Regions from separate parts of the Homo sapiens genome. Here all the other regions are linked to region 2. Evidence: promoter capture Hi-C in human tissues and cell types (Jung and others, 2019). All regions are on one chromosome and are shown on one strand. Each heading gives the region's core, a stretch centred on a gene start or on the middle of the fragment in contact. The rest is flanking DNA. Distances are from core to core; before and after follow the strand shown.

Region 1 (3,470 bases), core at 669-3,168, 400 kb before region 2:
GAGGTCAGGAGTTCAAGACAAGCCCGGCCAACATGGCAAAACCCCATCTCTTCCAAAAAATACAAAAATTACCTGGGCATGGTGGCGGGCGCCTGTAATCCCAGCTACTCAGGAGGCTGAGGCAGGGAGAATTGCTTGAACCCAGGAAGTGGAGGTTGCACAGTGAGCCAAGATCGTGCCACTGTACTCCAGCCTGGGCAACAGTGAGACTCCATCTCGAGGGGGAAGAAAAGACTCCAGATTTTGGGGGGTGGGGAGAGGATCGGGGGAGGGGAAGAGGGAGGCCAAAGGAAGAGGGAGGAACAAGAATCTAGATTTTTCACAAATCCTCCTGATACTGATAGACTGTGAACTAGACTTTGACAAACACTAGAATAGATGACCTTGGGAAACAGAAGACTGCAGCTAAGCGACGAACCTAAGCAACACCTGAGGTTTGCTTTGTGCTGGGCACTAAAATACCTGAAGTATTTTATCTACATCATCTCATTTACTCTTTAATGTCATACAGGTTTCCTCATTAATGTCACAGAAAATCATTAACGGCCGGGCATGGTGGCTCACACCTGTAATCCCAGCACTTTGGGAGGCTGAGATGGGCGGATCACCTGAGGTCAGGAGTTCGAAACCAGCCTGACCAACATGGCAAAACCCCGTCTCTACTAAAAATACAAAATTAGCTGGGCGTCGTGGTGGGCGCCTGTAATCCCAGCTACTCGGGAGGCTGAGGCAGGAGAATCGCTTGTACCCGGGAGGTGGAAGTTGCAGTGAGCAGAGATCCCACCATTGCACTCCAGCCTGGGTGACAAGAGCAAAACTCCATCTCAAAAAAAAAAAAAAAATTATTAACAAGCTTACTTTGTATTATTGGGAAAGTCATGGCTTTTTAAAAATTTTTTTTACTTTTTTTTATTTTTGAGACAGAGTTTCGCTCTTTCACCTGGGCTGGAGTGCAGTGGCATGATCTCGGCTCACTGCAACTTCTGCCTTCTGGTTTCAAGCGATTCTCCTGCCTCAGCCTCCCAAGTAGCTGGGATTACAGGTGCGCGCTACCACGCCTGGCTAATTTTTGTTATTTTTTTTTTTTTTTTTACTAGAGATGGGGTTTCACCATGTTGTCCAGGCTAATCTCGAACTCCTGACCTCATGATCCACCCCCCTCGGCCTCCCAAAGAGCTGGGATTACAGGAGTGAGCCACCATGCCTGGCCGATTTCCTCGTTTTTGAAAGTATTAGCAATTTAACAAGTTTCAGGAACCTTAGGGGTATTTTGGGGAACCTCAAGAAGAGAGGAATTTGCCCAAATTTTAAGTACTACAGGTAAAATCTGATGGAGAAAGCATCCTGGACTTGCCTTCTGTGTCTCAGGATATCAAACAACGAATTTTTAAATTTCTTTTTTCTTTTTTTTATTTTTTGTTTTGTTTTGTTTTTTTGAGATGGAGTCTCGCTCTGTCACCCAGGCTGGAGTGCAGTGGTGCGATCTCGGCTCTCTGCAAGCTCTGTCTCCTGGGTTCACGCCATTCTCCGGCCTCAGCCTCCAGAGTAGCTGAGACTACAGGCACCTGCCACCAGGCCTGGATAATTTTTTGTATTTTGTTAGTAGAGACGGGGTTTCACCATGTTAGCCAGGATGGTCTCTATCTCCTGACTTCGTGATCCGCCTGCCTCAGCTTCCCAAAGTGCTGGGATTACAGGCGTGAGCCACCACACCCGGCCTGTATTTTTGTTTTGAGATGGAGTCCCACTCTGTTGCCCAGGCTGGAGTACAGTGGCATGATCTCAGCTCACTGCAACTTCTGCCTCCTAGGTTAATTATCCTGACTCAGCTTCCTGAGTAGCTAGGATTACAGGCACGCACCAACACGCCCAGCTAACTTTTGTTTTTAGTAGAGATGAGGTTTCATCATGTTGGCCAGGCTGGTCTCGAACTTCTGACCTCAAGTGATCAGCCCGTCTTTGCCTCCCAAAATGCTGGGATTACAGGTGTGAGCCACGGCACCTGGCCAAAACAACAGACTTTAAAAAGTCTAAGTTTCCTTATGGAGACTTCCAGGCAGGCAAACTCAGGTAGGCTTATCTGGTGAATCAGTACTATTGCTGCACTACATAATCAGGCCAAATATGATGAAATCAGCCTTATAATCAAAAATATGTTTCCTTGGCCACTGTAGAAGAGGCCAGTTTTGCCTCCATTTGCACATTCATTTCAATATTCCTGATCTAGAATCTTGTAGATTCTTCTTTGGATTCTCTCTTTTTTTTTTTTTTCTCTCGACACAGAGTCTTGCTCTGTCTCCCAGGCTGGGGAGCAGTGGCTAGATCTCAGCTAACTGCAACCTCCGATTCCCAGGCTCAAGCCATTCTGGTGCCTCTGCCTCCCGTGATCCGCCCACCTTGGCCTCTCAAAGTGCTGGGATTACAGGCGTGAACCACTGCGACCAGCCCATGTAATTTTAAAAATTGCTGACTGGAACCTAATGATTTTAGGACCAATGACTAAGCAGTTTCAAAAACAGTGCCCTAGACCAAAACAAAGGAAATACAATTCTTTTATACTCATATAAAGCAAACACATGTTAAAGATTTTACTTACCGTTAGCCAGTAAGGTGGAGCTCAGGAGTTTGAGACCGGCCTGGCCAACATGGTGAAACCCTGTCTCTACTAAAAATACAACAATTAGCTGGGCTTGGTAGCACAGGCCTGTAATCCCAGTTTGCCGCCTGGCCAACACGGTAAAACCCTGTCTCTACTAAAAATACAAAAAAATTAGTCGGTCGTGGTGCATGCCTGTAATCCCAGCTGCTCAGGAGGCTGAGGCAGAACTCACTGAACCTACCGGGGAGATGGAGGTTGCAGTGAGCCAAGATCACACCAATGCACTCCAGCCTAGGCAACAAAATGAGACTGTCTCAGGAAAAAAAAAAAAAATTTCAGTGCATGTAATAAAAATGAGTATATTTTAATACATTTATATTATTTAATAAATTCAATAAATATCTCATTTAATAAAAATTAGAAACTTTTGTTACTCTAGTTTAAGTGCTTTTTTTTTTTACAGTAGATACCCATTGTTTTACAGTAGATACAGGGGCCCTAATGTGTTTCTTTTGTAATGTTCAATCTTCATTCAGTACAAATTTCTTTTTTTTTTTTTTTTTTTGAGACAGAGTCTCACTCTGTCGCCCAGGCTGGAGTGCAGTGGCTCGATCCTGTCTCACTGCAACCTCCGCTGAATCCTTGAACCAGGTTCAAGCGATTCTGCTCCTCAGGCTCCTGAGTAGCTGGGATTACAGGTGTGCGCCACCACGCCCAGCTAAATTTTTTGTATTTTTAGTATAGACAGGGTTTCACCATGTTAGCCAGGCTGGTCTCAAACTCCTGACCTCTGGTGATCTGCCCACCTCAGCCTCCCAAAGTGCTGGGATTACAGACGTGAACCACCATGCCTGGCTGCACTCAGTACAGA
Region 2 (3,662 bases), core at 165-2,664:
GGCCACCAGGCAGGGTGGGGCAGGGCACGGTCATCAAAGCTAAAACCAGACCTAACCACGGAGGCGGAAATCAGACCAGGCCAGGCCAGTCCACGGAGGCTGAGACTGGGCCAGAACTTAACTCGTCGGACCCACATTCCTGGGCCTAGCCCTAGCCCAAGTGCCATTCTCCCAGGGAGACCAATTGTCACTAAATTGGACGCCCAGGACCTGTCAAGGCCCAATTTCAAAAGCAGGGTGCCACCAAGAACCCTAGAAGGCCCCTTCTCCAAGCCCAGGGAAGCCCCTCCCAACTTCAGGCCTCAGGGAGGGAAAGGAAGGTCATTCATTCACCCCTCCATTCATTAGGACCACAACTGGAAGCCTCAGTCCTGAGGGCAACGACTGGATCCCATAAACTCGGACACCCATGCCACCCTCTCACCCACCTCAGAGCACAGACCCTCTGCAAGCTACACAGCCCCGCCAGCGCCGATGCTGCTGTCTCCCCGCTCCCTCCACTTCCACACACTCCCACCCGGGTCTCCGCGGGCTCTCCGAACCAAGCCCTCAGCCCAGCTTTCCCAAACAGCCCACACAGCGACACGGGTATTGGGCAACTGTAACCAGCTCCAACCGGAAGTACCTGCCTGTGGGTGAGACCCACCTGACCCTCGGGGCCGGCCGCCATAAGGGCGAGGGCTGAGGACCTCCCGTGGGGGACATGGGCTCCCCACCAGCCGGAAAGCTCCAGCGACCGGCTGGGCGTTCCTGGGCCGGACCCGCGCCGCCGCCCGCGCACTGGGGCCTTCGAGGTGTGATGTCACCTGCCCGCAGAATCGGCCCCCCTCGCGCCGCCCCCCTCGCGCCCCCACCCCAGCCTCCCTCTCGCCGCTCCCGGGGCTAATATGGCAGCGGCGCCGCCGCCCCACCCCCGCAACCGCACGACCCGGCTGGCAGGGCCGCCGGCCCGGACCCCCGAGACTCACACCCCGGCCAGGCCCGCACGCCCTGCGCCCCGGACCCCCGGCGGCTCCCCGCAGCCCTCGGGGCGCCGACCCCCGCCCGCTGTCACACGAGGCCCGGGCGCCCCCGACAGCTCGGGATTACGTCAGAGTGACGTCACACACCGGACCCCGGCGAGCTGCGGGCATGAGCAACGCGCGCGCCCCCGCCCCCGAGTCCCTCCCGCCGCCGCGCTCACCGCTGAAGACCATGGCGGCCGAGGCGCCCATGACGGCGAAAAACGAAGCATACTCGGGGCCGCTCTTGGACTCGGACATGTCTGCGGGTGGGGAGGGGGCAAGCTCTGCGGGCCGAGGCGGTGGCGGAGGCGGGGGCGAGGACGGGCCGGGCACGAAGGTTTGCGGGCGGGCGGCGGCGAAGGCGATCCGGCCCGTCAGCCGCTGCGCTCTAAATACCAGCACCGCAGAACAAAATGGCGGCCGCGGCCGCGTCACATGACCTGGGCCCCGCCCCTGCGAGCCGTACCACTTCGCACCGTGGGGGAGACGCGTCCCCGGGACGCCCGGCCGGCCCGTTGACCTCCCCCGGGCTGTGCCGCCCGCCCAGCGACCCGGCCCCGGCGCCCGGCCCCGCCCTGCCTCGGCCTCCGCGGGTGTTTCCGGGCGCCGCCGGCCTCTGGATCTCCGCAGCGTTGGACCGGTCTCGCGCCGGGGCGGGGCGGTGTGGTGTGTGCTTCATTAGCATACGGGGCGGGGCCTCGGACGCCCCGCCTCCTCTGCGGCTGCGCGTCGTCTGCAGGTGTTGGGTTCCCGGCGACGCTTTTCTTTGTACCCCTGGCGTGAAGCTGCAGGCCGTGGTTTCGCGGCCTTGCCCCCAAGACGGGGCCTCACCCCTCCGGGCGCTGGTCTTCCAGGATCTCCCTACCAATCCTGGGCGAGCTAAGGGTCCCAGCAGATGTGCGGCGCGCGGGCCTCCTCTGCCACAGCGTCCGGAAAAGCCCCCAGCCCACACCTGTGAAGTCCCAGCCCGTGGCTGCGGTCACCTCCCTCCACCCTGTCCCCAGTCTCCTCCAGACCCAGACCTACTGCCTCTGACCCAGCAGTTGGTGACTTCACCTCTCGCTTCGGAGAAAAAGGACCCCCTCCCCGCACCTGTCTCTGCCTTTGCATCAGGGACCCAAACATTAGTGGGGTGTGTCTCTGCCCCTCAAGATGTAGGCATGACTGGTGGAAGCCCTGTCGGAACTGCGACCTCTGGAGGCCCCCCGGGCTCTGCACGTTCTGGCGTCCTGGTCCTCCCACCTGTCCTTGCAGCCACCCACTCACGCAAAGCCTGCACCTTCAGGGCCATCTTTCTGTCTTTCTGGAGCAGTTGGAGCGGTTCCCGCAGCCGTGAAAGCAGCCCAGCCAGGGCTGGCGCTGCCCTACTGATCCTGTGTGGCAGTCCCTGGCACCCCCTCTGCCTGATCTCCATTCCCCCTTTCAGGGGCCCTGGGCAGCTGCCACCAGGCCTGAGTGTCCTTTGAGCTCTAAGGCCTCATCCTGGGTTAGAGCTCTCCCTGAGTAGCCTGGATGCTGGCTCATCACCTTCTCTATGTAGGCAATGGGGTCATGGCCCCTGGTCTGGCCCTCCTGCTGGACTCAGCCCCACCTTCCCCAGCAGGAGCCTCCCTCAAGCCCCTTCCCCAGGCTAGCCTGGGTCTGCCACTCTTGGAACTTGCAGCCCGTGAAAGTCCCTAAGTCTGTCCTGGTTCAAAGGAGAGGAGGCAACAGATACGGCCAGAGGCCCTTTCTGCTCCTCCCTCTTTCTTGCCCGGCCCTTGTTTCTGAGAAGACGAATCTTCACTCTGTCTCCACCTCCTCACCTGCCCTTCCCTCTCCAGCTCCTTGCCCTTGCCAAGGTCACTGGTGACCGCCATTTCTCTAAGCAGAAGGACATCTGTCAGGCTGTCCAAGTGGACCTCTGTGCTGCGTGGCCTGCCACCCTCTCCACACACTCTCCTCTCTCCTGCGGACTTCCTAAATCTCAGACGCCCTCATTCTTCCTGGAGTCACAAGGCCCTGTAGCCCCAATTTTGCTGCAGGTCCTGGCATACCCAGGGCTACCCCTAGCTCTGCCCTTCCCCTGCTTGATCCCATCCTTTCCCTGGCTTTGTCCCCCATCTTACGCCGTCTTGTCCCTCACCTGCACCATTCCAGCCCCGACCGCCCTCTGAGTGAGAGCAACACCAGTGCCTGCCCCCATAACTCCAAGCCCTCCAGGAAAGCCTAGGCCAGGAAGGCTGTGCCTGGGGCCGAATTCAGACCAAGGAAAGGTGGCGCAGAGCAGCCCACCATGGAGAAACAGCACAGTCCAAGCTCAGGGGTGGGCTGGGCACGGTGGCTCCCGCCTGTAATCCCAGCACTGTGGGAGGCCGAGGCAGGAGGATTGCTTGATCCCAGGAGTTTAAGACCAGCCTGGGCAACAAAGTGAGACCTCGTCTCAAACAAAACATTGTAGGGTGGGCAAAGAGCACCTAACTCCATTGTGGCTGAAACACCAGGACTGGGGACATGGGGACGTGGAGAGACTTCCCTCTTGCAGGAGCAGGGAGTGGGTCAGCTGTGCTCACTGGCCTCTTACCCATTCATTTTCTGCCTAAGTTCTAGTGTGAGAGGTCACACCGGGTCTCCAGTGTGGCTCCTGACACTTCAAGCTGGCGTGTCTGAAGCTGAGCT
Region 3 (3,235 bases), core at 690-3,189, 280 kb after region 2:
GTGGTCGCTGATGGCAAGAGCCTGTGGGGACAGAGTGAGCCTCAGGGGAAAAGTGCACCCCACCCACAGGGATGGGAGGGGCCGGTGAGGCCTGGGTGCCCACCCCTGCTGCTGCCTGCGGTGGGGCAGGGGCAGGGGCCGGGGCAGAGGGTGTCACCACTGGCCCTTTGAGGGAAAGGCAAGGTACCCTGCCTGCCCAGAGCTCCACATGGGGTGGGCCGGGCTCTCCAGGGTCCTTGGAAACGAGCCCTGGTGCAGGGAGGAAGCTGAGGTGGCCCTGCCTTGGGCGCTGGACCCTCCCTGCTGCCTGCGTGCGCCCGGGCGGTGGGGACCCAAGACCAGCACCGCCCCACGGCCCACTCGCCTGAGTCTGGTCCAGGCCGAATTCCTCCTGGAAGTCGTGCACGGTGGCCGACTGGGGCTTCAGGCTCCGGCGCAGGCGGGCGCCACAGGCCACAATGCGGTCGTAGGCGCAGTCTGAGTTGCCCACCGTGGTGTCGGCGCTGTCAGGGATGAGCCACTTGAAGACCTCACTGCTCCTCAGACGGATGGCGGCCCAGTCCTGCGCCCGCACATAGCTGCAGTCGGCGTTGAAGTCGCCCAGGAACAGCATGTCCTGCGGGCGCCGCGGAGCCGTGTCTGAGCCGCCGCAGGAGCCGTCGAGGTCCCGCCCTCATGAACCAGACCCCCGGGGCGCGCCTGCAGGGACCCCGGGACCGAGGGGTGGGCTTACGTCGGTGCCCCACTTGTCGATCACGTCCAGGTACACGTCGTAGAGCGCGTCGATCTCCGCCACGGCTTGATGCGGCGCCGCGTGCAGCGGGATCAGCACCAGGTTCTGTGCTGCTGCGGGAAGGGGTGGGGGCGTCAGAGCTCGGCGGGAGGGGAGGGGCGGGGCCCGCTCACCGGTGCCGGGGGCCGAGAACTTGACCACGAAGGGCTCGCGGCTGAAGACGTCCTCGGGGTCTGGGTACAGGTAGGTGTCCACGACCGACACCGCGTCTTTCCTAGGAGATGGGGAGGACCCGCTGAGCCCCCGACCTGCGGCCCCGCGCGCCCCTCCCTGCGGCCCGCCCCTCACCTGTACACGAACAGGTACATCTCCTTGTACTGGTCCCGGCCCAGGGGCTGGCTGCTCACAAAGCTGTACTCGTGCTCGGACACGCTGCGGAGACAGGGGCCCGCTCAGGGTCGGGGCGCCGCGCCGGGGCGAGATCCCGGCGGGGGGTCGCGACGAGGGGCCCTGCCCACCACACCTGTTGATCTGCTCCATGAGCGCGGACACGGCGCTGAGGTCTGGGTCTCGCACCTCCTGCACCAGCGCGAGGTCATAGCCAGCCAGGATCTGGGGAGGAGCGGCGGGTGCGGGGGTCAGCGCGGTCAGCACCCCTAAACGCCGCCCCGCCCCGGCCCGGGCCCCACCTTCGCGATGATGCTGCCGCAAGCGGGGTCCGACACTTTGCTGTCACCGAAGCTCTGAATGTTGAAGGCTCCGATGCGAAGCGCGGCGGTCCCGGCGGCTTCCAGCGCCCAGAGTGCGGCCAGCAGAGCCCGGGGCCCGCCCATGGCGCGGAGCGAGAGGCTGGGAGGGACAGACGCTGCCGCCTACGCAGACCCGCTGTCAGACCCACCGACCCACCCCTTCCCTCCGCGGCCGCCCCTTGACGGCCAGTGCGACGCGGAATCCGCCCCTGCGTTCTGCAGGCTCCCAGGGCACTGCTGGGCTCTCAGGGACCGCTGCCTTCTCACTGCGCGGGAAGCTGCAGCCGGAATGGAGGGTCCGGCCCATCCAGCCCCAGCTCAGGGCAGCCGAGAGACTCACCTTGGATGTGGGTGCAGAGGCCCGAGGCTCAGAGATCCTAGGGGGATGGGGATCCCGGGTCCAGGCTGCGGGCGTGTCCGACACAGGACTGCACTGACTCCCTCTGGCAGTAGCTCTGGCACCAAGGCAGGGGCCGGTATTTGAGGTCCTGGGCCAGGGAGGGGCCGGGCTGCACTGGGTCCCGCCCCCTCGACTCAGCTGGGTGCCTGATGAACTCCTGGCTTTCATTCCCATGGAGACCCCCAGGGTAAGGGGTGGGAGACCTGCCTGAGCCGGTTCTGGTGCCCCAGACCTGTCCCAAAACCGTCCCAGAAGCCCCTGCCAGCCCCCTAGGAGGGAGGTAGACGGTCAGCCACATCCCGGTGCGGCTGTGTTCTTGTCCTCGCCCCTAGAAATTAGGTCGCCTAGACTCTGCCTCCCTGAGCAGAATCCCTTCAGGGAAAGCAAGGCAGCGCAGGTAGGACCAGCCACACTCCCTACCCAGCATCTCCTGCTGCTGCTCCACCTGCTCACCCTGCGGTGGAGGCCGAGGCTCCCAGATCTCCCTGTCCCCGTCCCTGGTCCTCCCACCCACCCACAGGCCTCAGGCAGCGCAGCTGGGGGCACAGCTCCAGCTGGGCAGGGCAGGAGGCTGTTGGTCAACATGCCAATGACACCCACACAGCACCAAGGCGCCGCCAGGGCTGGCAGAAGCCCCTGGGTGGGGCGGCCAGGCACGTGAGTCTAGGAGTGGCCTGGGAGGCAGGTGCTGCTGCGGGGGCCTGGGCAAAGGTGGTGGCACCAGCCGCGGAGGCTGCCACTGCCACAACATCACAAGCTGCAGGTTCTCATGTTTTATTGTAAAGCAACAAGAAACTCTTATGTACACTGTCCGTCTTGGGGCGCCTCCATCCTGTGCCATCTTCTCTACCAGGCCAGGCAGGCATGGGTGGGGCGCTCAGAGTCCTCTGCCCTGTCCCTGCCCGGCCAGGACCCCGCAGACCTCATGCTAGACGATGACCGTCTGCACCTCCAGCTGGCCCTCCGGCGAGGCGATGACCAGCTCGCCTGCATGCTCCAGGATCTCGATGTCCTCTGATGACACCATGGTCACAGTGGCCTGTTCAGTGCCACTTGTCCCTGCCCGGGCGGCAAGCACAGTGCCCTCGCTGATGGCCGAGGCCAGCGTCATGGCCACCTGCTCTGTCAGGCTCTCGGGGGTGGCGATGGTGATGGTGTCGGCGGCAGCCGCCTCTGGGCCCAGCGCCGTCTCCTCGTCCATGGTGACGTTCTGCACGATGATCTGGTGGCCGGCGCTAGCCTGGTGCACGATCTGCTGCACCACCTTCATGATGTGGCTGTCCACCTGCAGGGCCACGGCTCAGCAAGAGCGGCTGTGCCAGGGAGCCTCCCCGCCCCCGCCTGCCCTACCCC
Region 4 (3,599 bases), core at 1,059-3,558, 260 kb before region 2:
CTATCTCCAGATAGCTCAGTGGCTCCTCAAATTAGATTTGCCTGGAGAATTTGGATAAAACCGGATTCTAAAGTCCCACCCTGGGAGGTTTTGATTTAGAAGTTCTTGGATATAACCCTGGAATCTGTGTATTTGTCAAGCAGCGTGGTGGTCCTGGGCCACACTGAGGGAACTCTCTCTTCCCTCCTCTGACTTCCCGTGTAGTTGCTGGTCAGAAGTCTTTGGGACTTGCCCCATGTAGGGCCTCTCCCAAGATCCTGCTTCTCTCCTCAGGATGACCAACTCTTGGATGATGGCAAGACACTGGGCGAGTGTGGCTTCACCAGTCAAACAGCACGGCCACAGGCCCCAGCCACAGTGGGGCTGGCCTTCCGGGCAGGTGAGAGGCCCACCACCCACTGGGCTGGGTGGTAGCCAAGCAGGTTGGGAACACTGTTCCAAAGAAGGTCATCAGGGAGCCTGGAGTTGAAGCCTTCAGGGCAGTGTCTTCCTCGTGCCTAAAGGGCTGGCAATATCCTTTCACAATGTGTTTGTTTCCTCATTTTTTTTTTTTTAAAAAAGAAGCAACCAAATGAGATGCTTACAGAAACCAAAGCTTATTTTGTGAAGCCAGCTCACATTTACAGGAGGCTGAGTGAGTGCCTGGCTCCGTGCTCTGCATGTTACTCTGTGTGTGGCTTCCACTGCCCTGTCTCATCCTCTCAGTAGCCCTGGGAAGTCCACATACCATCATCCGTGTTCTGCAGATGAGGACACAGGCTTACCAGCAGTCACGTAGGGAGCCACGGTTAGGATGCTGACTGCCGGGCCCTTGCTGGAGTCAGACATCATACCAGGCTCTATGCTATGTATCACCGAAACCCTCTGCATCTCTGTGTGGCTGAGATTTGGATTTTGCCAGTTTTCAGGTTCAGTAAAGTGAGCCTGGGGAGGTTAGGTCATCTGCTGGGACTGCCACATCTAGGATTCAGATCCAGAGCCTGGGCTTCCATCAGCCATACCCCACCCCTGCCCAAGCTTTAGAAACCTGGGGATTAGGGAGTGGTTTACTACTCGCCAAGATATCTTCTTCCACCCAAGAGAAAGGGAGGGGAGATTTAAAATATTTTGTCTCTAGGAACTTGAAGAGAGGTTATAGAGCTGTGTTTTCACAGCTGTGGACCCAGCAGCTGTGTGGATGGCTGAGAAAACTTGGATAAAGTTGTAAGGAATTCTTATTTTTCTGCCTGTAAGGGAACATAGCAAAGGCTGAAGAGGAAGAGTAGAGTCCTAGCTCCACCTTTCCGTTCCATAAGTTCAGGCTAGGCCTCAGTCTCAGCAGCTATATCCTCTGGCCAGCTACCTTGCCCTCCTGCCCCTCCTGGCCCCAGTGTTCCCTTCTCCTTAAAGGGGTGTGATGAGACTGGCTTCACAGCAAGGTGGTGTTGAGTCCTCATGCACCCCAGGTCTGGCCTGCTGCCAGTGCCCAACAGATGGGAAGCTTCAGAGCCTTTCTGTGGGCTCTTTCTGCCCAGATGGTGATGTTAAGAGTCAGGTGCAGGGCTGGCATAGACACAGGTCGTGCCTTGTACATGGGTGCATTTTTGTTGTTGTTGTTTCTGAGACAGAGTCGCACTCCGTTGTCTAGGCTGGAGTGCAGTGGCGCCATCTCAGCCCACTGCAGCCGCTGCCTCCCGGGTTCAAGCGATTCTCTTGCCTCAGTGGCCTGAGGAGCTGGGATTACAGGCATGTGCCACCACGCCCAGCTAATCTTTGTGTTTTTAGTAGAGATGGGGTTTCACCATGTTAGTCAGGCTGGTCTCAATCTCCTGACCTCAGGCGATCCATACATCCCAGCCTCCCAAAGTGCTGGGATTACAGGCCTGAGCCTCGGTGCCTGGCCCAGGGGTGCCTGTCTGAAGAGAGCAAGGGAGTGCCAAGAGCATATCTGGTCTGCTTCGTGAACCGAAGCTGGGCTGTGTTCCCCCAGAAGTGTCCCTTTCTCTAATTTCAACAGTGGTACCCCTAGAGGTTTGCTGTGACTTGGAAGATACTGATAGACCCATTTTGCAGATGAGAAAATCAAGGCTAAGGAAGGTGACTTGTTTTTCTCCCACAACCCCTAATATGGCATGGAATGTGGTGGTGACTCCGGAGCCCAGGTCACATCATCCCTCTTGCAGGTGATGGCTGTCTTGATAGGGGGCACAGCATGGGCTGTCAGCTCTTTGCTTCCCCATGGAATGCTTGCAGAAACACACTTCTGGGTGCAGCTCAACCCATCATCATGTTGTTCCCAGGCCTTGAATGGGTGCCCCACCCTCCGCCTCTCCCCTCCCCCAAGCTTACCACTCAAGGAGATGAGTATTTCAAATCAAATGTTAAAGGGCATTGTCCCGGCTCATCACAAAAGAATGAGGGAGGTAGTGAAGGCACGAATTGTCACAGGTTTGTGGCTTGGAAGATGGATTAGTTTCTGAACCTCGGCACAGTGGGCACATTGGGCTGGATTGCTGTGTGGGTTGCCTTGTGCACCATAGCACGTGGAGCCGTATCCCAGGCCTCTACCCACTAGATAGCGCTGGGGCACCCCACCTCCCCATTTGTGACCGCCACAACTGTGATCAGGCATTCCAGCTTTCCCTGGGATGCCTGATCAGTTGAGAACCCTGAGCCAAGCAGAGATGGGTCTCCTAGCTGGAAGAAAGCACAGGAGAAAAGCTGTGGGTTTGTTTGCTGTGTGTTGGGGTGACAGTAGGGACAAGACAGGGAAGGCCTTTGCCTTCCTGGAGCCAGTCAAAAGGGCAGTTTGTCCAGTGGTAAGTGCCCCTACGCCCAGAGTGTCAGGATGTCTTGACTTTTGGGGGTGCGTGGACTGGAGGTTCATCTGAGGAGGTGACCTGAGTTGGACCCTGAAAGTCCAGAAGCAGCCAGCCATTCCGAGTGCTGGGACCAGCAAGTGCGAAGGTCTGAGTTAGGAAAGAACTTACAGAAGAACATAGAGAGCCAGAGCCTCAGAGCGTGGGAAGCAGAGGGAGAGACAGACGGCAAGGACTTGGTGGTATTCAGGTCATGATGGGAAGCCACTGGATGGTTTTCAGCAGGGGAGGAATAGTCTAGATAGTCTAGTTTGATTTTTTTTTTTTGAGATGGAGTCTGTGTCGCCCAGGTTGGAGTGCAGTGGCGCGATCTCAGCTACTGCAAGCTCCGCCTCCCGGGTTCACGTCATTCTCCTGCCTCAGCCTCCCGAGAAGCTGGGACTGTAGGTGCCCGCCACCATGCCCGGCTAATTTTTTTTTTTTTTTTTTTTTTGTATTTTTAGTAGAGATGGGGTTTCACCGTGCTAGCCAGGATGGTCTTGACCTCCTGACCTCATGATCTGCCCGTCTCGGCCTCCCAAAGTGTGTGAAGGGAACAAGGAGATATATTCTGGGTGAAGGGTGATGCTGGCTGCAGATGGTGAGCCCTCAGACTCACTAGTGGACATGGAAGATGAGGAAAGGGGCCCCAGCATGGTCAGTGGGAAGGGCTGGGGACCTTCAGGTTGGGCCCACAGGGGTAGGAGACATTACCGTGGGGCCACGGGGGTAGCTGGAACAGGGAGGTCAGCGCTGTGGAGA
Region 5 (3,657 bases), core at 900-3,399, 350 kb after region 2:
CCGTGTGACTGGGCCTCGGTTTCCCCATCTGTCATGAGGGGCCAGGTGAGGTACCTGTGGGCGCCCTGCTGCCTGGCTCTGCCCATCCCTGCCGCCGAGGGGCCAGGCATAGCAGCCGTGCCCTGCCCCATCATGGGTACCTTCCGCCGTGTGACAGGGGCCATGGGGCTTCTAAGGGTAGATGAAAAGGCACCGTTTTTTGGGGGGTAGGATTAGAAAAAAAAAGAGGGCCCCTGGAGAGCCCCTGAGGGGATCACCAGCAGCAAAGAGGCGCTACTGTAAGCAGGTGTCCTTGGCGGCCCTATGACCCCATGGCCAGGTTTATCAGAGCAATTAAAAAGCTAATTAGCAGCCAGTGTGCTTCTACAAAGGGCAGAGTGCCAGAAAGGAGAGAGAACAAAGTCACCCCAGAACCCCACCCCGGAATGAGGGTCCCTGGCCCTGCACCTCGGGAAGAAGGCACTGCCACTTCCGCATGGTCTCCCTGAGCACGGCGCTTGCGTTCAAAGCGCAGCACTCTGGTTTTTAGGGGATAGGACTGAGAAGCAGCAGGGAAGCTTCAGGTTTCTGTCGTGTATCCCGCCCAGTGGTCTTGTGCAGGTGAAGATTTATTGGGCTTGGCTTGCTGGCTCATGCCTGTAATTCCAGCACTTTGGGAGGCCAAGGCAGGAGGATCACGTGAGCCCAGGAATTTGAGACCATCCTGGGCAACATGGTGAGACCTCATCTCTACCAAACATAAAAAAAATTAGCCAGGTGTGGTGGTGCCTGTGGTCCCAGCTACCTGGGAGGCTGAGGTGGCAGGACTGATCCCAGGAGGCACAGGTTGCAGTGAGCCAAGATTGCGCCACTGCATTCCAGCTTGGGTGACAGAGTGACACCCGTCTCAAAAAAACAAACCAGACTTATGGATCTCTTCCACTCTCCCTCCCTTCCTATTAACATGTCACAACTGCAGCACTGTTACTGAAGCCCTAGGGCCAAACTCAAGAGAAGACCTCCGGGCACACGGGACCTTTCGGAGGCTGGCCAGGAGCCTGAGACTGGGGACAAGCTGGGGATCACTGTGACAAGGGACAGGGCTGTGTGGTGGTGCTGGAGATGTCAGGGCAAGCCTCCCTAGAGGGGATGAAGAGGGCAGGGAGAGAGGGCACAGCACAGTCACCGAGGCACAAGGAGCAGGACACCCGACTCCTGTCCAGTGGGGAGGCCCAGGGCTGAGAGGCTGTGAGGACACAGGCTGCGGTGTGAGGCTGCCCGCGCCCAGCACTGGCACCCAACACCAGCTCACCGGGAAGTGTCCCTCAGTCCTTAGCAGGGTGGGCATGGGGGTGCCCCGGTTATTCCCAGCCTGGGCTGGCCTTGGCTTAAGGGCTCACCTTTTGTGATGGTGGTGACGGCTGAAAAGGCGGGTCCGAAGGTCGTTTCCATTCTGGTCTAGAGGGAGGACGGAGGAGACCTGGCCTCATTCCGGGACACAAGGAGGACGTGCACATGTGGAGCCCACTCACATGCCTAACACGCGACCAGGCCAGGCCACGCAGCACTCACACACTTAACCATGCGACCAGGCCACGCCACGCAGCACTCACACGCTTAATCATGCGACCAGGCCGCGCCACGCAGCGCTAACACGCTTAACCATGCGACCAGGCCAGGCCACGCAGCACTCACACGCTTAACCATGCGACCAGGCTGCGCCACACAGCACTCACACGCTTAACCATGCGACCAGGCCAGGCCACGCAGCACTAACACGCTAAACCATGCGACCAGGCCAGGCCACGCAGCACTCACACGTTTAACCATGCGACCAGGCTGCGCCACACAGCACTCACACGCTTAACCATGCGACCAGGCCAGGCCACGCAGCACTAACACGCTTAACCATGCGACCAGGCCAGGCCACGCAGCACTCACACGCTTAACCATGCGACCAGGCCGCGCCACGCAGCACTCACACGCTTAACCATGCGACCAGGCCGCGCCACACAGCACTCACACACTTAACCATGCGACCAGGCCGCGCCACGCAGCACTAACACGCTTAACCATGCGACCAGGCCGCGCCACGTAGCACTAACACGCTTAACCATGCGACCAGGCCAGGCCATGCAGCACTCACACGCTTAACCATGCGACCAGGCCAGGCCACGCAGCACTCACACGCTTCAGCATGCGACCAGGCCAGGCCACGCAGCACTCACACGCTTAACCATGCGACCAGGCCAGGCCATGCAGCACTCACACGCTTCAGCATGCGACCAGGCCAGGCCATGCAGCACTCACACGCTTAACCATGCGACCAGGCCAGGCCACGCAGCACTCACACGCTTAACCATGCGACCAGGCTGCGCCACACAGCACTCACACGCTTAACCATGCGACCAGGCCAGGCCACGCAGCACTAACACGCTTAACCATGCGACCAGGCCAGGCCACGCAGCACTCACACGCTTAACCATGCGACCAGGCTGCGCCACACAGCACTCACACGCTTAACCATGCGACCAGGCCAGGCCACGCAGCACTAACACGCTTAACCATGCGACCAGGCCAGGCCACGCAGCACTCACACGCTTAACCATGCGACCAGGCCGCGCCACGCAGCACTCACACGCTTAACCATGCAACCAGGCCGCGCCACACAGCACTCACACGCTTAACCATGCGACCAGGCCGCGCCACGCAGCACTAACACGCTTAACCATGCGACCAGGCCGCGCCACGTAGCACTAACATGCTTAACCATGCGACCAGGCCAGGCCACGCAGCACTCACACGCTTAACCATGCGACCAGGCCAGGCCACGTAGCACTCACACGCTTAACCATGCGACCAGGCCAGGCCACGCAGCACTAACACGCTTAACCATGCGACCAGGCCAGGCCACGCAGCACTCACACGCTTAACCATGCGACCAGGCCGCACCACGCAGCACTAACACGCTTAACCATGCAACCAGGCCGCGCCACGCAGCACTAACACGCTTTACCATGCGACCAGGCCAGGTCACGCAGCACTCACACGCTTAACCATGCGACCAGGCCGCGCCACGCAGCACTCACACGCTTAACCATGCAACCAGGCCGCGCCACACAGCACTAACACGCCCCAACCACACACGCACGCGTGCGCGCGCGCGCGCGCGCGCGCACACACACACACACACACACCACACCCCCCCCCACCGAGCTCCCCTGAGACCCCAGCTCGGGACGGGACTGCGCTGGGAGCTCTGCAGGCAACACCAGATCCCTGGGGCATGCTGGGGGTCCTGGGGATGTTGGGCTTGCAGAGGGGCACACCCTTACCCCTGTGGTGACGTCTGGGGTGGGAAGATTGCTGGGCCCCCCGGAGAAGCGGTTGTAGCGGGCACTCTTGCCTGAGCTCATGCTCTAGAGAGGCATCTACGGTCCTTGGGAAGCACCTCCTGTGGGTGGAGCACAAATGAGGGGCTTGAGAGATGGAGCCCAGGCCCCTGTGAGTCAGACGGGCTGCTGCAAGTGTGCAGACCTGCTGTGGGGCACCGTGGGGCCGCCGCAGCAGCCTTCCACCACCAGCCCCGGCTCAGGCAGGCCTCTAGGAGGCAAAGGTCCTTCACCCCGATCCCAGGTATGCAGAGGCCCGGGCAGGCAGGCGGCTCTGCGTCACCGT
Region 6 (3,168 bases), core at 357-2,856, 470 kb after region 2:
CAATGCCAGGCATGTGTGACAAAGACACAAACACACATAAAAGATAACGACCTAGCCCATGTGCGATGGCTCATGCCTGTAATCCCAGCACTTTGGGAGGCCAAAGCGGGCAGATCACCTGAGGTCAGCAGTTCAAGACCAGCCTGGCCAAGATAGTGAAACTCCATCTCTACTAAAAATACAAAAATTAAATGGGTGTGGTGGCACGTGTCTGTAGTCCCAGCTACTCAGGAGGCTGAGGCAGGAGAACCACTTGAAACTGGGAGGCAGAGGTAGCAGCGAGCAGAGATTGTGCCACTGCACTCCAGCCTAGGCAACAGAGCAAGACTCAGTCTCAAAAAAAAAATAAAATAAAGAACCTACTTCTCCCAGGAACTCACATCTTATCATGTAACACCTGGACATATCCTTACCTGTGAAGATGATGATACTCAGGCCTCATCTATAAGATGGGCTTTCTTTCATCAACATCTGAATAGTAACTCAAGTGTGCCTGAACCAGGTCACCAAGATCCTGACTTTCGAAGTCTCCTGAGGAAGGACATGTCGGCCTCCAAGTACTGGAGACAGCATTCCTGTGTAGACAGTTGCCAGCAACCCGTCTCCCACAGAACCTGGTGCAAGACCAAACCCAGCCTTCTCTGCATTTCCCTCTAGCCTAGCAAAGACACAGGTAGCTCACTCACTCTCAGTATTTCCGCGGTGATGATAAACTCCGTCTGTTTACCCTCTGCAGACCTGGGATTTGGCCTCGGTGTTCCCAGTCCCAACAGAATCTTAAACTTCTCCTTCAAGCCTGAATCTTTGCTTGTTGGTTTGGCCATGGTGGACCAGGACGCACCAGAAAACCCCTCTGTGCAAACGAAACAGGAATGGGGACATCTGAGCAACACCTCTGCCCACCTTCCCCACTGCGGACCTCCAGCCGTCAGGACCCTGGGTCTCTGGTGGGCATAACCTTTCCTCCCACACTCCCTGGGAGAACTCAACTACAGCCCAGCTGACCAGCTCGCAAACAGGCACCTAGGAAAGCCCGGGAGACACCAGGCCTGGTCTAGAGAGCTCTCTACTCAGACGCTGCCGCCCGCCCCGCCCGACTCAGTGCACGGGTTAGGACTGCCGCCGCGAAGTCCTGGGAGCCCCGACGTTTGCCGTCTCTCCTCTACCCATGTGAAGCAGGAGCTGTCACGGAGCCGCCTGCAGCAGAGACCCGTTCGCACCCGCCATGACTTAAAACTAAGGGATGCTCGGAGCTCCGGAGTCGGGTTGCAGTGGGCGCGGGTGAGGGCCCGGGACCCGGACACTGCGGGGTCCGCCTCTCTAGGCCGCTGCCCCGTGGGGACCGCCACTTGCCCCGTGGGGACCGCCACTTACCCCGCGCCGCGCCACCGCGCTCCGGGCCGCCCCGACGCGGAGAAAGGCGCACCCCCCTGGCCCCGGGACGCCGCCGGAAGCGCGACCCGCACTTCCGGTAGCGGCATTGCGCGGAGGGCCGCCTTGGGAGCTTGCTGGGAGTTGTAGTTCTGTGCCGCCCTCTGGCGGAAAGGCCGGCGATCCTTGCATCACGTGACGGGGCCGCATGGGCCGCCGGGATGTGTAGTCCGCAGGAGTCCGGCATGACCGCCTTGAGCGCGAGGATGCTGACCCGGAGCCGGAGCCTGGGACCCGGGGCTGGGCCGCGGGGGTGTAGGGAGGAGCCCGGGCCTCTCCGGAGAAGAGAGGCTGCAGCAGGTAGCGCCGCGCCGTGGCTGGAGCGTGGGAGGAGGCGGGATAGGGGCTGCAGGCTGGAGTCCCGGGCCGCCTCCTGCGGCTCCCAGCTGCGCGGGCAGGGGCTGCAAACCCGGCAGCCGCGAACGGTTCCCACGTGCGGCCCTGCGTTCCCACCTTGCGCCTTTTTCCCAAAGATTGCGGTCCGCAGGGGCTGGGTTTCGGGCGCTCCGCTCCGCTGCCCCCTTTCGCCCCAAGCAAGAAAACGCTTCCTTTCCCACCACTCTGTCCGGGACTCTCCACTCCAGGCTCTGTGGGTCCCATCCCCGCCCTCCTGCAGTGAACTTGCTGTCCTCGGAGAGGCTGGGTGCCAAGGACACACGCAGCCAGAAGCCTGCTCCCCCAGCTCGGGGGAGGGTGCCTCTGAGGGAAAACAGGAAAGGGCATGGCACTTATTATATTTATCCTGCAGCCGTTGAGGACCTGCTGGGGGCCAAGCACTGCAGTGAGCAGTGAGGGACACGGACAGGGCCTCTGCGCTAGTCCCGCTGGGACTTCTGCAGAATTGGCCAGAGCTGGATTCCCATAGGCACCCAGGGACCCCAGGGGTAGTCCAGACTATGTCAGGAGGAACTGGTGCAGCTGGGAGCAGGCAGGTGGTGATGCCAGCCAGGGTGGCAGGAGCTTTGATGCCAGGATAGAGTTTGGAGTTTATTATGACAGTAAACGGAAGTCAATTAGGAGGTTTTGTTGTTTGTTTTGAGATCGGGTCTTGCTCTGTCACCCAGGCTGTAGTGGAGTGTTGTGATCTCAGCTCACTGCAACCTCCGCCCCCCAGGTTCAAGCAGTTCTCCTGCCTCAGCCTCCCAAGTAGCTGAGACTATAGGCCCCTGCCACCACACCCGGCTAACTTTTGTATTTTTAGTAGAGATGGGGTTTTGCCATATTGGCCAGGCTGGTCTTGAACTCCTGACCTCAAGTGATCCACCCACCTCGGCCTCCCAAAGTGCTGGGATTACAGGCTTGATCCACCGCGCCCGGCCGGCCAGGATTTTTTAAAAGGGAGTGACACAACCTGATGTGGGTGTTAGCAGACTGTCTCTGGTGCAGTATAGAAGATGTATTGGGGGCACCTTGGTACAGGCTGTTGCTAGAGTCCTCATGAGCTAACATGGACCTTGTCAGGGTCGCTGGCATAAGGAGGGCCCACATACCCCAGACTGCAGAGGGCAGAGCACCCCAAGTGTATTAGATGATGGACAGTTGTGGCATGAACGAGTGAGGGGTGAGCTAGCAGGCGGGATGGCACCCCTACCCTACCTTCACCTGTGGCCCCACCAGAGGGACTGCGTGGTGCTTTTTGCAGAAGCGAGGAAAAGCCACAGCCCCGTGAAGCGTCCGCGGAAAGCACAGAGACTGCGTGTGGCCTATGAGGGCTCGGACAGTGAGAAAGGTGAGGGG

Evidence for each region. Contacts are between HindIII fragments. The study calls those that stand out against the background at their distance.
Region 1: a contact is called between a fragment that was not itself captured here and the fragment with the promoter of ATP6V0C in region 2, in 2 of the 25 tissues and cell types used here (dorsolateral prefrontal cortex and spleen).
Region 3: the fragment with the promoter of DNASE1L2 here is called in contact with the fragment with the promoter of ATP6V0C in region 2 in 4 of the 25 tissues and cell types used here (dorsolateral prefrontal cortex, mesendoderm cells, small bowel and 1 more).
Region 4: a contact is called between a fragment that was not itself captured here and the fragment with the promoter of ATP6V0C in region 2, in 1 of the 25 tissues and cell types used here (dorsolateral prefrontal cortex).
Region 5: a contact is called between a fragment that was not itself captured here and the fragment with the promoter of ATP6V0C in region 2, in 7 of the 25 tissues and cell types used here (H1 embryonic stem cells, dorsolateral prefrontal cortex, lymphoblastoid cells and 4 more).
Region 6: a contact is called between the fragment with the promoter of NTHL1 here and the fragment with the promoter of ATP6V0C in region 2, in 2 of the 25 tissues and cell types used here (dorsolateral prefrontal cortex and spleen).

What each region holds. Positions count from the first base shown.
Region 1 is chr16:2,914,603-2,918,072 of GRCh38, reverse strand. All of the region lies in intron 2 of FLYWCH1 (FLYWCH-type zinc finger 1), which reads right to left. Among named protein-coding and RNA genes, the nearest start is that of FLYWCH1, 4.4 kb to the right of the region's middle. The HindIII fragment of the contact is 5,144 bases long and covers 1-3,470 here.
Region 2 is chr16:2,511,704-2,515,365 of GRCh38, reverse strand. It overlaps ATP6V0C (ATPase H+ transporting V0 subunit c), which reads right to left and starts at 1,414. Exons shown (of 3, transcript NM_001694.4): 1 at 1,184-1,414. The coding sequence starts at 1,262. RefSeq lists silencers at 659-798, 1,219-1,698 and an enhancer at 2,604-2,898. The HindIII fragment of the contact is 15,008 bases long and covers 1-3,662 here.
Region 3 is chr16:2,235,148-2,238,382 of GRCh38, reverse strand. DNASE1L2 (deoxyribonuclease 1 like 2) reads right to left here and starts at 1,939. Exons shown (of 7, transcript NM_001374.3): 1 at 1,823-1,939; 2 at 1,423-1,605; 3 at 1,257-1,345; 4 at 1,082-1,165; 5 at 734-1,007; 6 at 365-616; 7 at 1-21. The coding sequence starts at 1,566. It overlaps E4F1 (E4F transcription factor 1), which reads right to left. Exons shown (of 14, transcript NM_004424.5): 14 at 2,641-3,167. The coding sequence ends at 2,811. The HindIII fragment of the contact is 25,906 bases long and covers 1-3,235 here.
Region 4 is chr16:2,772,231-2,775,829 of GRCh38, reverse strand. ELOB (elongin B) reads left to right here. Exons shown (of 4, transcript NM_007108.4): 3 at 274-379. Among named protein-coding and RNA genes, the nearest start is that of ELOB, 3.2 kb to the left of the region's middle. RefSeq lists a silencer at 2,609-2,761. The HindIII fragment of the contact is 3,004 bases long and covers 807-3,599 here.
Region 5 is chr16:2,163,659-2,167,315 of GRCh38, reverse strand. It overlaps TRAF7 (TNF receptor associated factor 7), which reads right to left. Exons shown (of 21, transcript NM_032271.3): 2 at 3,315-3,433; 3 at 1,380-1,437. The coding sequence starts at 3,395. Among named protein-coding and RNA genes, the nearest start is that of TRAF7, 9.7 kb to the right of the region's middle. RefSeq lists enhancers at 1,389-2,161, 2,162-2,935, 3,345-3,657. The HindIII fragment of the contact is 6,093 bases long and covers 1-3,657 here.
Region 6 is chr16:2,046,272-2,049,439 of GRCh38, reverse strand. NTHL1 (nth like DNA glycosylase 1) reads left to right here and starts at 1,606. Exons shown (of 6, transcript NM_002528.7): 1 at 1,606-1,731; 2 at 3,074-3,168. The coding sequence starts at 1,617. It overlaps TSC2 (TSC complex subunit 2), which reads right to left and starts at 1,455. Exons shown (of 42, transcript NM_000548.5): 1 at 1,375-1,455; 2 at 687-853. The coding sequence starts at 824. RefSeq lists a silencer at 1,192-1,421 and enhancers at 1,512-1,601, 2,052-2,111, 1,703-2,202. The HindIII fragment of the contact is 27,107 bases long and covers 1-3,168 here.